3 separate regions of the Homo sapiens genome follow, and all the other regions are linked to region 3. The links are contacts of gene promoters, found by promoter capture Hi-C in blood cells and fetal thymus (Javierre and others, 2016). All regions are on one chromosome and are shown on one strand. The core of a region is centred on a gene start or on the middle of the fragment in contact, and the rest is flanking DNA. Distances in the headings are between cores, read along the strand shown.

Region 1 (4,329 bases), core at 1,731-4,230, 740 kb before region 3:
GTACATTTTCTTTATCCAAGCATACTTCTAACTTTGCATAGTGAACAAGACTTGACAATTCTAGCCTGAAATCTCTGAGTATATGACATTAGCATATGGAGATTCCATGCTGTGTAGACCAGAGATGGCACACTGGCACTCTGGGGGCTGAATCCCAGATTTAAAAATAGGGAATTTCGGCAGGGCACAGTGGCTCACACCTGTAATCCCAACACTTTGGGAGGCCAAGGGCAGCAGATCACAAGGTCAGGAGTTCGAGATCAGCCTGGCCAACATGGTGAAACCCTGTCTCTACTAAAAATACAAAAATTAACCAGGCGTGGTGGTGTATGCCTGTAATCCCAGTTACTCAGAAGGCTGAGGCAGGAGAATTGCTTGAACCCAGGAGGCGGAGGTTGCAGTGAGCAGAGATCGCACCACTGTACTCCACCCTGGGACAGAGTGAGATTCTGTCTCAAAAAAAAAAAAATCAATAAATAAAAAATAGGGAATTTCCTATATAAATCCCTATTTGGAGCTTCTCTGGAAACACTGAAGGTCTAACCACCTGGGGTCCTTAGCCCTTCACGGTAATAAGAAGTGGAAGAAATGTCCGTACCTCTTCAGGCTGGGCGTGTGCTCTGCAGCTCACCACAGTCCCCATTTTTTGCCTGTTGCCACTTGCCATTTTTTTTTTTTAGCTGTCATTTTTTTGTGTGCCTTCATAGCCACTTGTTTTACTGGATGAAAAATATTTCTCTGTTCCTATGCCTATAACAAAAGTGACAAAGTAAAAGCCTGAAAAAAAAAAAAACCTTATACTTAAAGAAAAATTGGAAGAGAAGAAAAATTGTTCTTTTTTAGAAGAGAAGAGCAATTTCTTACTGTTTGACAAGCACACACCCAGCTTCCTTGAGTCTTTTATTTTCCTCCTCTGCCCTGACAGCATTTAAATTCAGCTTCTGGTACAGATAGTTAACACTGCTTGAGAAGTGAATGGAATGTAGCAGCCTGTCCATTACCTTGAGAATTAGCATGTATTTCTAACTCGCAGTATTTCTAAATTCTGCTTTGACTCCAAGAATTAACTTGGATAAATCATTCACTACAACGAATCTACACTTAGCACCCTCATATATCAAATATGCCCAAAACATGATAATTTTAGTACTTAGTATGTGCATAGTACTATTATAAGTGCTTATGCATATATTAGTACATTTAACCCTCATAATTCTACCAGGCAGGTACTATTACAATTATCCCTATTTTACAGAGAAGGAAACTGAGACACAAGTTACATGTCTAGATTATACGACTAATGTGGCAGAAATGAGACAGGAACCCAGGCTGACTGTACCAAACTTAAGGGAAAGCTTTCAAAAGATCATGAAATCTTTGGAGGATCTGAAAATGACAGGAACAGAAGTAGTACTTTGTATCTCAAAGCCCAAATATGAAAATGAATGATATGGCTATGTTCTAATTGTCTTCATTCTGCAATCAAATATCAGCGAATCCTCTGGAGCCATTGGCAGCACCAACATGCCCACAGTGGAGGCAAAGTGAGGGACTGGTTCCAGTTTCCACTCAGCACTGATCTGCTGTGCCTCGGGGCATCTCTTGGTCCTTGAGTTTACTTTTGGTGGAATTAGGGCATGGGACTTGCTCTAAGGTGGTTTCTTCCTCTAAAGCTGTGTGATTCTGTGACTCTGTATCAGGAATTGAGCTAGCATTTGTCTAAGAAAAAAAAAAGGATAAATGTTTCTGCTTTTTGCATCACATGAACAAAGGTTAGCGGAGAAGACAGTGCCACCGAAGGACCCTGTATGCTACACACCTTTCTTTCAAGAGATGCACAAGTGCCCCAGTGCCTCAGCCAGGCCCCAGTAAACATTAAACATCGATTCCTTCTCTTTCGAGCTCACATGTCACCTCTTCCAAGCCTCCTGCCCCAACCTACACATATAGACCCGAGAATGGTCCTCTCCCTTGATGCCATAGTGCCTTGTCCTCACCTCACTGCCAGCCCCTTCCCCGTGGCAATGACCTGCAGGTGTACCCTCTGCTTCAGCCTCGACACTCTCCAAGACTGCTTCATCTTTGTCTTCTCACTCCACTTGCAGTAGCAAGTCCTCAAAGATTGTTTGAAGGGCCCAAATGTGAGTTTTAGTCTTTGCTATTATTTTCTGTACCACCTTGGCTAAGTACCTCAAAATTCTCAGTGCTTCTATTTTGTCATACACAAAACAAAGATAAACTGTTGGGCCCAACTAAAAGTTCTGAAGTTCTGAAGTGGAAGAACAGTGAATACCACAGAATAGCTGGGGCAGGCAGGCAGCCTGGGCCCTCCCACAACAATGCCAAGATGACTGAGTCTCAGAGGATCACAGAAAGTCCCCCTCCATGCGGTCAGATCAGGCCTTTGGCCTTTGGGTAAGGCTGTACTCAACTACCAAAGAAAGACAGCTTTATCTCTCTTTCAAAGAGTTCCAGCAAACCTTTGAAGTCAATGTTATGATGTTCCTGGCTAGGTGACATTGGGGAAAAGCTTCCTGTGATTTGCCCCAATTCCCTCCCCTCAGCGTCAATCCTCGGTGGAGGCAAAGAACATTTGCTCATGGCCAGCAGCTCACATCAGGTGCCTTGCTCATTCACAGCCTAAAAAATGGAGGCGAGGGGCAGGGAAAATTGTAGTTCATTCTTTATTTTGAAACCTTAATCAATGAATTAATGCCATCATTACACATTTTCTAAGACAGGAGACAAAAAGTTACAGCAAACTTGGGGTTCTCTGGGAGTTGTGGTTTACCAGGCCCACTGACACCATTCAGTTCCTTAGAAGGAGCTTGTCTCCCTTTGCATTAATTATCTTACATTGAAAAGATTCTGTTACTTTCATTTATCCTCCTAGGAAAAGTGGATTATATGCAAAATCATTAGATGACCCTTCTCATGGTAATTCTGAGTTCCATTTTACCTTTACAGGTTTATAATTAGACTTCGTATTCTAGGTTTGAATGTGTCCTAACTTTACAAAAGTCAGTGAATACTGTTAATTTCTTTTAAAAAGGTACTAGAAATAGTATATCCGGGTTTATGTTTTTCTCCTGGACCTAATTCTTCTGCCTCTGTACATTTTAGCAAGCAAACCTTTTAAGCATTTTGCCTCTTGGACTACTGCTTTTTTTCTGCATAAGGAATAGCAGTTACAAAGCCAAAAGGACCTTCTTTACATGGATCTTGCTTTGTCTTTACCTTGACAGAGGAGTGAATTAAAGATGCATTCAGCTATTGCATCAACTGGATGTTAACAAGAGAAGATAATCCGTTACATGATGTGCCTTCTTCTGTGCCCCAGAAACTTCTTCATACCTTTACCATCCCTCTCCTCTTTCAATCCCAGCTTCTGAAAAAAGAACTCGTCCTGCACTAGGTCCTTAATCCCATGAGAAGCTTCCATAACTCCCTGTCGCTTCTCTTACAATATAAAAGGTGCTCACGCCTTGAACCTTAAAAAAGTTCTTCAATCACTTGCAGATGATTTTTAAACTAGGACACATAGTTGGCTTTGGTGGACTGTAAAGAACTGAAGTAAAGGCGAAATGTTAAAAAAAATAAAAAATAAAAAAACAGCCAGAAAAACAAACCTTTACCCTGCCATGTGTGAAACTGTAGATGAGCTAGAACGAGAGTCCCCAGCTTAATGAAAACTGCCGAGGGTGGCAATAGTCCTGCTTGCCTGTGTTTCAGGGGTGGGCAAGATAAGGGATAGTGAAGATAGGGGAGTGACTAAGAGCATATCACAAGTTCATGTAGATAGTAACTTTCATGATACTGGCAAATAAGTAGCTGGACGTTACACAATAATACTTTACCTTTCTGGTTCTAACGCATTATCTTTTACGGTAGTTACAAGGACAGCCACATGTTATCAGTATTTATATGCTATTACAACACATTTGACTAAGGAGCTGATCTCAGTGTAAGATGCTTTGCTAGCATGTATACAAAAAATCAAAATGAATTAAAGGAAGTAAAGGCTTAATGTAAAAATAAAATAGGGCAGGGATAAGCACGTTTTTTCTGTGAAGGGTCAGTAAACAGGATAGGCTTTGCAGGCTCTCCATCTCCGTCACAACTCCACTCTGCCATTGTAGCATGAAAGCAGTCAAAGACAATATGTAAATACATGGGCATGGCTGTGTTCCAGTACAAATTTATTTACAAAAACAGGCAGCAGGAAGGACTGGCACACAAGCCATAGTTTGTCAAGCCCTGAAGATGAGGAAATCCCCCAAATAAGCAGAAGCACTTTAGTACTCTCCATAGAGCCCTCACTTACCCCTA
Region 2 (4,950 bases), core at 361-2,860, 690 kb before region 3:
ACCAAGTATTTGAAGACAAAGTCTAAATGAGTGACAGAGAATCAGACTTTTTAAATAAGCAGAGAAAGGGGACATGATGGAAATAAAAAAATGCAGGTAGTAGAAGAAATCTGAAAAACAAAATTCTATTTCTTCAAAGACATGGAAGAAGAAACAAGAACAAAAGGCTATGAGGAAACATTGGAAGTCAGAGCCTTTGAATAATACTTAATGTGATAGTGAAATATGTTTAAATGTCAGATGACACATAGAATGTCAAAGCTGGAAGTTTCCCTAGAAGTCACTTACTGACCAACTATCCCCATGTGGAGGTGAGGAAATGGGGGCTCATGAAGGGTGAAGTTGTTTGCCTCAGGTGGTATAACCAGGACCCTCACAAATTAAAGGCGTGTATTCATGCAGAGGGCCTGGCAGTTGTAAGCACTCAGTAAATTCTAGTCTTAATAATGTTTATTAAGAACTTAGATGTTACTGCATGATCTTACTTATTTGTAAAATCTAAAAAAGTCAAACTGATAGAAGAGAGTAGAGTGGTGGTTACCAGGGGCTGGAGGGAAGGGTGGATGGGGAAAGCAGAGATATTAGTTCAAGGGTATGTAAAGTTTCAGCTAGGAGGAATACATTCTAGTGATCTGTGGCATAACATGGTCACTGTAGTTATTAACAATGCATATGTTTAAATGGCCAAAAGAGCATATTTTAAATGTTCTCACCACAAAGAAAGGATAAGTATATGAGGTGATAGATACGTTAATTAGTCTGATTTGCTCATTTTGCAATGTGTACATGTATCAAAACATCACATTGTACTCCACAAACATGTACCATTATTTGTTAATTTAAAAATGCAGAGAATCAAGAACTTATATGTTCAACCTGGGCAACATAGACCTCATCTCTAGAAAAAATAAAAACAAAATTGGCCAGGCATGGTGGTACGTGCCTGGAGTCCCAGCTATTCAGAAGCCCGAGAAGTGGAGGCTGCAGCGAGCCAAGATCACGCCACTGCACTCTAGCCTGGGTGACAGAGTAAACCCTGTTTTCAAAAGAAAGAAAGAAAGAAATTATATGCAAGTAATAATAAAGTTGTTTAAAAACTTTGAGAGATTATGTGTTAAGTATGGGGCAGAAGGCCTTCTTTTATATGGATTATCTCATTTGTGCTCACAACACACAGGTATTATTGTTCCTATTTTATAAATAAGAAATTTCAGGTTAAGAGAGTTTAAATAAACTTGTCAAGCTCATCCTGGTTACTGAGTAGTGGAGCAAGGCTAACTCCAGAATGCTTTCTCATAGCCAGAGCCAGGAGTAGAGTCCAGTTCTAAAGAAATAACATCAAAACTCCAATATGTTACAATTCCCACTGGAGCTTAGACCAGCGCTGCCCACTAGAAATATAATTTGAACCACATATGTAATTTTTAAGTTTCTAGAGCCATTTTTTTATTAAAAAGGTGAAGTTAATTTTAATAATTTATTTTAATCCAGTACTATCCAAAACAGTATCATTTTGACACGTACTCAATATAAAAATTACTAATGGGATTTTTTTACACTTTAAAAAATTCTAAATCTTTGGAATCTGGAGTGTAATTTACACTTCCAGCACACTTCTACTGGCTTAGCCATGTTCCAAGTGCTCATAGCCACATGTGACCAGTGACTACTGTAATGGACAGCGCAGCCATCAACCAAGGGGTACATCATAAGAAAGAGAGTCAATGGATGGTGTGTGTCAAGTTCAACCTCACAGTTTCTCTCCTTGTGTAATTGGCATAGGGATAGGTAAGCCGAGCAGGGAGCTAATACCCAATTAATTGTTAGGCTCAGTACCTATGTATACTTCTCCTGATTCCACCAGAAGGTGTCCCTTGTCTGTCTCCAAAATATTCCACATTGCCTCTATCCCAGCAGTTATCACATTCCATTTTAATTCTGTTTTTACATGCGAATGCCCTCCATCAAACTGTGGTTGAGGACAGGGTCCATTTCTTTTAAATCTCTGATTCCAAAGCACCTCTCTGTTGTGAACATGAGATAAAAGGATCCCTATAAAGCACTGGACACATTTCATGGGCTCTTGATGCTCTATTGGAAGAAACTAACAAAAGCATCCTTTTGTCACTAGGTGACACTCTTGTCCCAGCCTTTTTGTTTTTGCTCTTATTCTTCATAGTGTTAGGGGGAGCTGATTTTCACATTCACAAGAAAATAGGAACACCCCAGATCTTTCTGACTGACTTTCAAAGCTGCAAGTGACAGGATCTAAGATTTAAGGTGTATATTCAAACAGAAATGCCATTTTTGTGACAGTGCCCTAACTCCTGCCATGCCAACTCTTCAGCAAGTAGCCCAGAAATCTCAGTTTTCTTGGCCATTGTTTTTTTTTTTTTTTTTTTTTTTTAATCTGGCCAGTTTGTCCTGGCTGCATGAGGAAATTGAATATCCTGATTTGGAATGAATAGGAAAGGGATCCTGGGATAGTATCTGAGGTTGGGGTTGTTGAGATCCAGAAGAGGGGCCAACCTGTCCCCATTTGACAAGCAAGTGGCCTGATTTGTGACTCTCTTGAGAGGCCCACAGCCCCTCTTGCTGTGGTCTAATGCTCAGTGCAGAGTTTTTGGGGGATCACTGTTAAATCCACTCAAGGCTTCCATATTTGCACCTTCTTCTTATGAATCCAGTAAATATCTAGCAGCAGAATTGAGATTCAGAAAACTGTGCAAGACTATCCTAAGAATGCTGGCCAATTCTGGACATGGTGTGCATGTGTGTGTATGGTAGATTGAAGAAGGATAGTGTGGAGATTGCATAAGCAGCATAGGCTTCTTTTGCTGAAATGGCTTTTCTGTGCAGACTAACTTTTCCTCAAGTCCTGGAAATACATCCAGCCCAATTTATTGTATTCAGGCCAAAGGAGCAGTAAGTTGAAACCTGCTCTATAAGTAGGGTGATCAAATAGTCAATTTATTGTCAAAATCAGGACACTTTTTAGAGGAAAGAGTAGTGTTTTTTTTGTAATTGCACTGGAACAGCAAGCATAAATCGGGAGGCTCCTGAGCGAACTGGGATGGATGGTCACTATACTCAAGGCATGGCCAGTGCCCTACATTTGGCTTTTTGTCAGATGTAACTCAGAATGAAGGTTATCCATTCTTTTCTGGCTATTTTTCTTCCTCTATAGAAGAGAAGAAAATACCAGCGGTGTTTCCTAGTGTGTGACGAGTAGAGTGACGATTAGACCTCACTAATTTCCATGATTTTACCAGGAAAACCACTTTGCAGAAGGGTCCAATGTATCTGTTGCCCTGCACTGGATTCTGAAGTCCCTCGGAATGCTCACTGACTTCTGCATTTGGCTAACAGAGGCTTTAGTACCAGGAATTCCCAACAGCTTAAAAAAGTGAATCCATATCAGATAACAGTTTCTACTTTTCTCATGATCTGTTCTTTATTCCCATCTGATTTCTTTAATGACTAGCTAATTTCCTCCAGGCCTGGACCTATAATCCCAAATTAATGTGGACAGTTGCAGAGAGATATCTTTCTTTGCCTTATAGTTTGTATGTCTTTGAAGTGTGTAGCTAAAAGCAAAGTCTCCTCTCTTTGCTTGTTCCTTCATCCCCAACAGGGGTGTGTACCTCTGCACTATCTCCTAGAGGAGTGGATGTATTTTGAGCACTGCGATATAAAGAGCCAACTGCATGGTGTGGTGCAAAGACCACAAACTGGGTCAGAAGACATGAGCTCAGTGAACCTAGCACAGATCCTGACCCTAGCAGATACTCAGTAAATGTGAGCTGATTCCCAATCAGATCATTATAGTTAACCATTGCAGTGGAGGGAAGACTTCTGTGGCTTCTACCAACACTGTGTCAGAGGAGTTCTTTGCCTGGGTGCCCCCAATTCAAACCTAGTAGATGCTAGGACCATTCAGAGCAAGTGAGAACTACCAACACTGAGGCCTCTACAGATCTTTCAGCTTTGGATCTTTCAGCTTTGGAGCCTTTAAATCTTAAACATGATTCCTTTAGGTCCCTGGGGACCTGAATAAGAAAGAATCATATTCTACCCAGACATGAACGAGTAAGGCCTTCCTCTAACTCAGAATTTGACAGGAGAAGTAGGGAAGTATCATAAAACAGTGGACAGAATCCGGACTTTGGGGTTAGATAGCCCTGGGTTTTTAGTTGTTTTTGTTTGTTTTTTTTGGAGATGGGGTCTCACCCTGTCGCCCAGGCTGGAATGCAGTGGCGTGGCCTCCTGAGTTGAAGGGATTCTCTTGCCTCAGCTCCTGAGTAGCTGGGACTAGAGGGGCACCATGCCCCGCTAATTTTTTGGTATTTTTAGTAGAGATGCGGTTTCACCATATTGGCCAGGCTGGTCTTGAACTCCTGACCTCAGGTGATCTGCCTGCCTCAGCCTCCCAAAGTGCTGGGATTACAGGCATGAGCCACTATGCCTAGCCAGCCCTGAGTTTGAACACCCACCCTTACCAGCATCTACTTAGTCAAAGTCACTTACCACCTGGAGCCTCATTTGTAAACTGGGGATAATGAAAACTACCTGCAGGGTTGCTATGGCAATAAATACTACAGATGTTAGGTCCCAGCACATAATAGGCTCTCCATATGGAATCTATTATTATCTAAAAGGACAGTAACACTTAGGGTCAGTTGAGAAAATAGCTCTGTACTAAGAAGGGACCAATGACTGGGAGATGCCAGAAAGCAGACTCTAAAATCATAAATCTCAAAACAACAACCCTAAGACTGTACTTGTGAGCCATTTCAACTATGTAGTTTATAGGAGCAATCCCTTTACACTACAGCAAGTTAAGCTTCAACTTAAATCAATGGCTGGGCTTGATCCATTGGTAGTGGTTGTCTGAAGTGCTGGTTAAGAAATATTCTGCTGCTGAGTCAACTCAGTAGGGATGCGTGCCAT
Region 3 (4,566 bases), core at 1,096-3,595:
AAGAATAAAGTGATTTAGGTGGTCTTTTTAAACTTTGTTTAAATTGAGTCAAACTCATTTGTATGTGGCGGAAGAAACTAGATGTTTTATCAGGCGGGAAACCCTAAAATTCTTCAGGTGAGTAAAAAGTTAATTGCTTCCCTATTCTGTAGTTGACAAGGTGTTGTTTCATTTTTTCTCTCTTACTACGCTGTTTCAAATTCTTGGCAGATTATTGGAAACAAGGAAAGTCAAGAATTCTCCCAGTGACTACCCATAGAATTAAATCAACAAAAACTGTTGATCATTGACTGTGCATATGGCACTGTGGCAGCTTCCCAGATCTACAAAGCAAGTGAGACAGTATCTGTTGTTTAAGAGGTCATAATCTCTTTCGGATTAAGGTGATACAAAAATAATAACACAGAGAAGCTGAAGCATCATGGAGAGGCACACAAGGAATGCTTATTGAGGTCTGAATTTTTAAAAGACTGGACACGTCTTTAAAATACATTTGGTGTTCGTTAAAATAATCTAGTGTGATAACCTCTGGAAATCACATTATTTTAAATGGAGGGAACTAGCCTTCTTTAATTTTTTTTTTAAAAAGCAGTTGGAAAACTTGAAGACAGGGACTTACTTACCTTTCCACATGTCTCTGTCAGGAACCAGTTTTCTAGGAAGGGTGGCAGAAATGAGCTTCATATGTTTCTGGAATGCAAGAATGTAGAAAGGGGGGTGGAGGTTCAAAGTCCAGGTAGCCCTCTGTGAGAACGCAGGAATCAAATCAGGACAAACAAAAGAAGGGTGAAGTGGGTAGGGCAACGGAGTTTCGGGATTGACTGGAATGAGAGTTAAGGTGATAATGCTGGGGTGGAAATGAAAGTCAGACCCCTCCTTACGGACTGGGAAGAAAGGAGCCCTCCTAGTAAAGTTGAAAAGACCAAGTGTCCTCTTCTCCATTTCACCGGGGAAACGCTCCTGTGCCTAGTCGTAAGGTACAGGAGAGTCTATGGAGCCCATGGAGAGTCTAATGCAAAAACTAGTTTCCGACCAAACTTTGCCTTGGCCACTGAGCATGCTCAGCTTTGTCTTCTATAGAAAAGTGAACTCCGTGGCTCCAGATTTTAGCTATAGCAGCTGGAGGGCGGGAGTGAGTGTGGGAGAGCCAGCGTGGCAGCGGCCGCAGGTGGAAACCTGGAGTTTGAGTATGCTTGAAAGGGAAAGTGTGGAACGAAGGGGCGGCCGGGTGGGGAATCAGAGAAGCCCCCAAGGAAATGATTCATCATTGTGATTGACCTTGACTTTAGCAACCCTTCATTAAAGGAGAAAATTTGGTTATTCGGAGATGGGGACTGTGTTGCAAACAGTTACAGGCAAAGAGGGGCAGTTCAGGATTCCGGCCGTGGTCCGCAGGAATGAGTCGGGGCGAGGGAATGGTTGTTATAACCCAATAGTGAGCCTCCCCGGTCATCCGGGCTGGACGGGACTGGGGTTGTAGCAGAAAAGCAGGAGCTGTATGGAGGATGCTCACCTGGCAGCCTCGATCTGCCCCTCTTCCCTCGCTCCTCCCTCCGCACCAGCCACAGCTAGTTGTCAGGGGCCAACATCTGGGCCGGGCTGGAACTGGCTCAGAAACTCGCGTTTGCCTGCTTATTTCTGCAGCTGGGCTCCTTGCCAGGTGCAACCACATCTATGAGAATCTCGCAGACTCTCAGACTCCTATGCCTTTGCTGGTACAGGGAGGAGGATTTACTATCACTCACTGCATAAACCATGATCACCAGAGATGTGCTCCCAAGTTACAAAGCCTGCAGGCGGTGCCCGAGGACCAGAGGGCCGGGCGCGGCCAGCTCACACTTCTGGGGCAGCCGTGAGCAGCGGGCACACGGGCAGCCACGAAAGCAGCAGCGAGGGTGGTGCAAACACCTCAAAACTACACCGAATCCAGTAGCGCCTGGCGCCCCCGGCGCGCAAGGTACGCTTTGGGGCGGTCCTGTGTGACCCCGGAAGAGAAAGTTGTTTTGGGGAAGGGGAGCAAGGAGAGGAGTGCGAGTTAAATAAAACTAAATATCAAAGTTGTTCTGCTCTGCTCAGGCCGCCTCTACTCCGCCTCATCTTTGTCCCAAGTCCTTTCACAGTCTGCCTTCCTCAAACGGCCCGATGCGCCCCCGTCTTTGCCGGAGTAAGCAGACCGCCAGCAGCCGGCCCGCAGGTCAGTCGACCCTCTCTGGATGCAGGTCGCCGGGAAAACCCGGAGCGGAGCATCCCTCGGGCCGGGAAACGCCCTCGGCGCGCACCCACTGGCGCGCATGCTCAGTCCGCGCGGCGGCTGCGAGTAGGAAGCTCCGCGCGGCGGCGGGGGCGGCGACGGCGACTGGCGGGTGGGAGTGGAGGCACCGGCTGGCGGGCGGGGGTACAGGGACGGGGCAGGGGCTCCCGCTCCAGGTTCCTTGAAGCACTTCCGACCGCGAAGCCCGGCGCGAGAAGCGAGCTAACCCAAGAGCCAACAACGAGCGCGGAGAGGGCAGCGGACTGAGCGGAGCCGCCGGCCAGAGCGGGCTCGGAGCCCGGGTCTCCGCCGCTCGGGACCCGGCTAGGCGGCGGCGGGGGCGGCGATGTTCCACTGCATCCCCCTGTGGCGGTGCAACCGTCATGTGGAGAGCATCGACAAGCGCCACTGCTCGCTGGTCTACGTCCCCGAGGAGATCTACCGCTATGCCCGGAGCCTGGAGGAGCTGCTGCTGGACGCCAACCAGCTCCGCGAGCTGCCCGAGGTAAGGGTCCGGCCTCACCTGAGCGCTCTGCCCGCTCGTCTGCTGTCCCTTCCGCTCCCATCCTCTCTCGTCCCCTCTTCCATCTCCGGGTCCGGCGTGAAGGAACCTTCCCTCTTTTATGCATTCACCTGCTTCTTTCTCCCCCTGTCTCTTTACTTCCATCCTTTCCCAGTAAAAGTTCCTTTTCATTTTATTCAAAGTGACCGGATATTTTGCGCGTAGTCACTGGGGCTCGTGCTATTGGAGAAGCGTTCTGGACTGTTAAGTAACTTAGATCCATGCTAGGTACTGACACCTGGCACTTGTGCCCGGTCAGGTGAGAAGCCGGGTGATTCGGGCTGTTTCCATCTGGAAGCTACAGAGCACTGCATCCTCCCCCCCTCCACTCCCCGGGGTCGTTCCCCCACCAAGGGCCGGGCGCGCCTCTCCTTTAGTCAAGGCATGTCCCGGAGGACCTTGTGACCTGGGCAGCGCTCAAGCGGGCCGCACTATCTCGGCATCTTGGGAGGAATGAGGAATGTGCTCCGTGCTTTATCGCGGGTGGGCTTGGCCGGCTGGCCTGCGGTGGCTGCGGGGGTGGACGCGAGATGGGCGCAGGGGAGAGCTGGGCCTGGAGCGCTAGGGGCAGGTGCCCAGATGCCGGCCGCCCGGGCCTTGCCTACGTGGACCTGTTGCGTGGTGGGAGCTGCGGTGAACGTCAGCGGAGGCTCTGCCCGCGGGCCAGCCTTGCAGCCGCCTTTCCCGGAGCGGGCACAGTCGTCCTGCTGACTTTCTCTCCTTGCAGTGATGCGTTATCTCTTCAGAGTTGTTTATGTAAATTGATCACTCCATTGCCGCCGAACTTGTCAAGCGACATGTGCTGATGGTGCTTTGACCGAGAGTAGGGGTACAGCGAACTTCTTTCAAGCTTGCCTCGGGAACTTAGCTAGAGTAACCCCTCGGGGAAGGTGTCTCAAACCCAGGTGTGTGCAGGAAGTCGGTGTGCAATAATCCAAAGGTGTGCAGGAAGTAGGGAGACTGCTGGCAGTCGGGGATTGGACCTGTTTTAGGCCTGAGCTTTGGAACGCAAACTTCTTGTTGCCCTTTAGTTAACACAAGCCAAATCATTGTCACAGAAACACTAGTCAAGTGTTCTGACTTGTTAGAATGACCTGATACGTTCTCCAGCGCTGATGGAGCATTTAAACAATAAGAACTGTGTGTTTTTCTCAATATTTTAAGTGGTGGTGTTCTTCTTGGATTAACTTTCCTGGGTTCATGTGGAATTGATTGGATGTTTGCTCTGTGTAATCATGGAGATTATCCTCACTAGGACCTTTGCAAAGCCCCCCAGGCTTTATTTAGCTTAGAAGCAGCAAAGCCATCAAGTTCCCTCAGGCGTTTATTATTTCGCAGGCATTTTCAAACACATGATTTTTTTCTGGCCTTTTACGTCCTTGAAGATTTCTTACCAGTCGTCAGCTCCCTCACTGCTTTAAGTTGTGTAATTTTAGGCAGTGATATCACCAGGAATATAGAATATGTAATTTAATAGTTTTCAGGGGCTTCAGGATGACATTATTGAAGATGGAGTGAAAAGTTATTCACTAGAAATGATTCATTGCTCTTTGTGGTATTTGTTTTTTTGTTTTCTTTTGTAGAACTGGAAGATTTCCTTTGACTGGATTGGCTTTTCACTCCCTTCTGCAGGGTTTGTGGGTTTTCCTGTAATGTTGGGGAATTCAGCTTGGCATGGGAAATTACATAATTTCCCATGCCAAGCCGAAATGTCAGGTCTTTCTGTGATCCTAAATGGAAACTTGTCAGAATC

What was found. The method cuts DNA at HindIII sites, captures the fragments that hold promoters and counts their contacts. A CHiCAGO score of 5 or more calls a contact.
Region 1: a contact is called between a fragment that was not itself captured here and the fragment with the promoter of LRRC1 in region 3, in 2 of 17 cell types (total B cells and activated CD4 T cells). The highest score is 6.5, in total B cells.
Region 2: a fragment that was not itself captured here is called in contact with the fragment with the promoter of LRRC1 in region 3 in 1 of 17 cell types (total B cells); the score reaches 5.2 in total B cells.

The regions. Positions count from the first base shown.
Region 1 is chr6:53,052,273-53,056,601 of GRCh38, forward strand. All of the region lies in intron 1 of CILK1 (ciliogenesis associated kinase 1), which reads right to left. Among named protein-coding and RNA genes, the nearest start is that of CILK1, 7.4 kb to the right of the region's middle. The HindIII fragment of the contact is 905 bases long and covers 2,529-3,433 here.
Region 2 is chr6:53,102,341-53,107,290 of GRCh38, forward strand. No RefSeq gene overlaps it. Among named protein-coding and RNA genes, the nearest start is that of FBXO9, 39 kb to the left of the region's middle. The HindIII fragment of the contact is 6,462 bases long and covers 1-4,841 here.
Region 3 is chr6:53,792,660-53,797,225 of GRCh38, forward strand. It overlaps LRRC1 (leucine rich repeat containing 1), which reads left to right and starts at 2,346. Exons shown (of 14, transcript NM_018214.5): 1 at 2,346-2,756. The coding sequence starts at 2,598. It overlaps LOC124901333 (a long non-coding RNA gene), which reads right to left and starts at 1,016. Exons shown (of 5, transcript XR_007059619.1): 1 at 882-1,016; 2 at 624-690. RefSeq lists silencers at 1,037-1,166, 2,212-2,451 and an enhancer at 2,418-3,130. The HindIII fragment of the contact is 4,441 bases long and covers 1-3,661 here.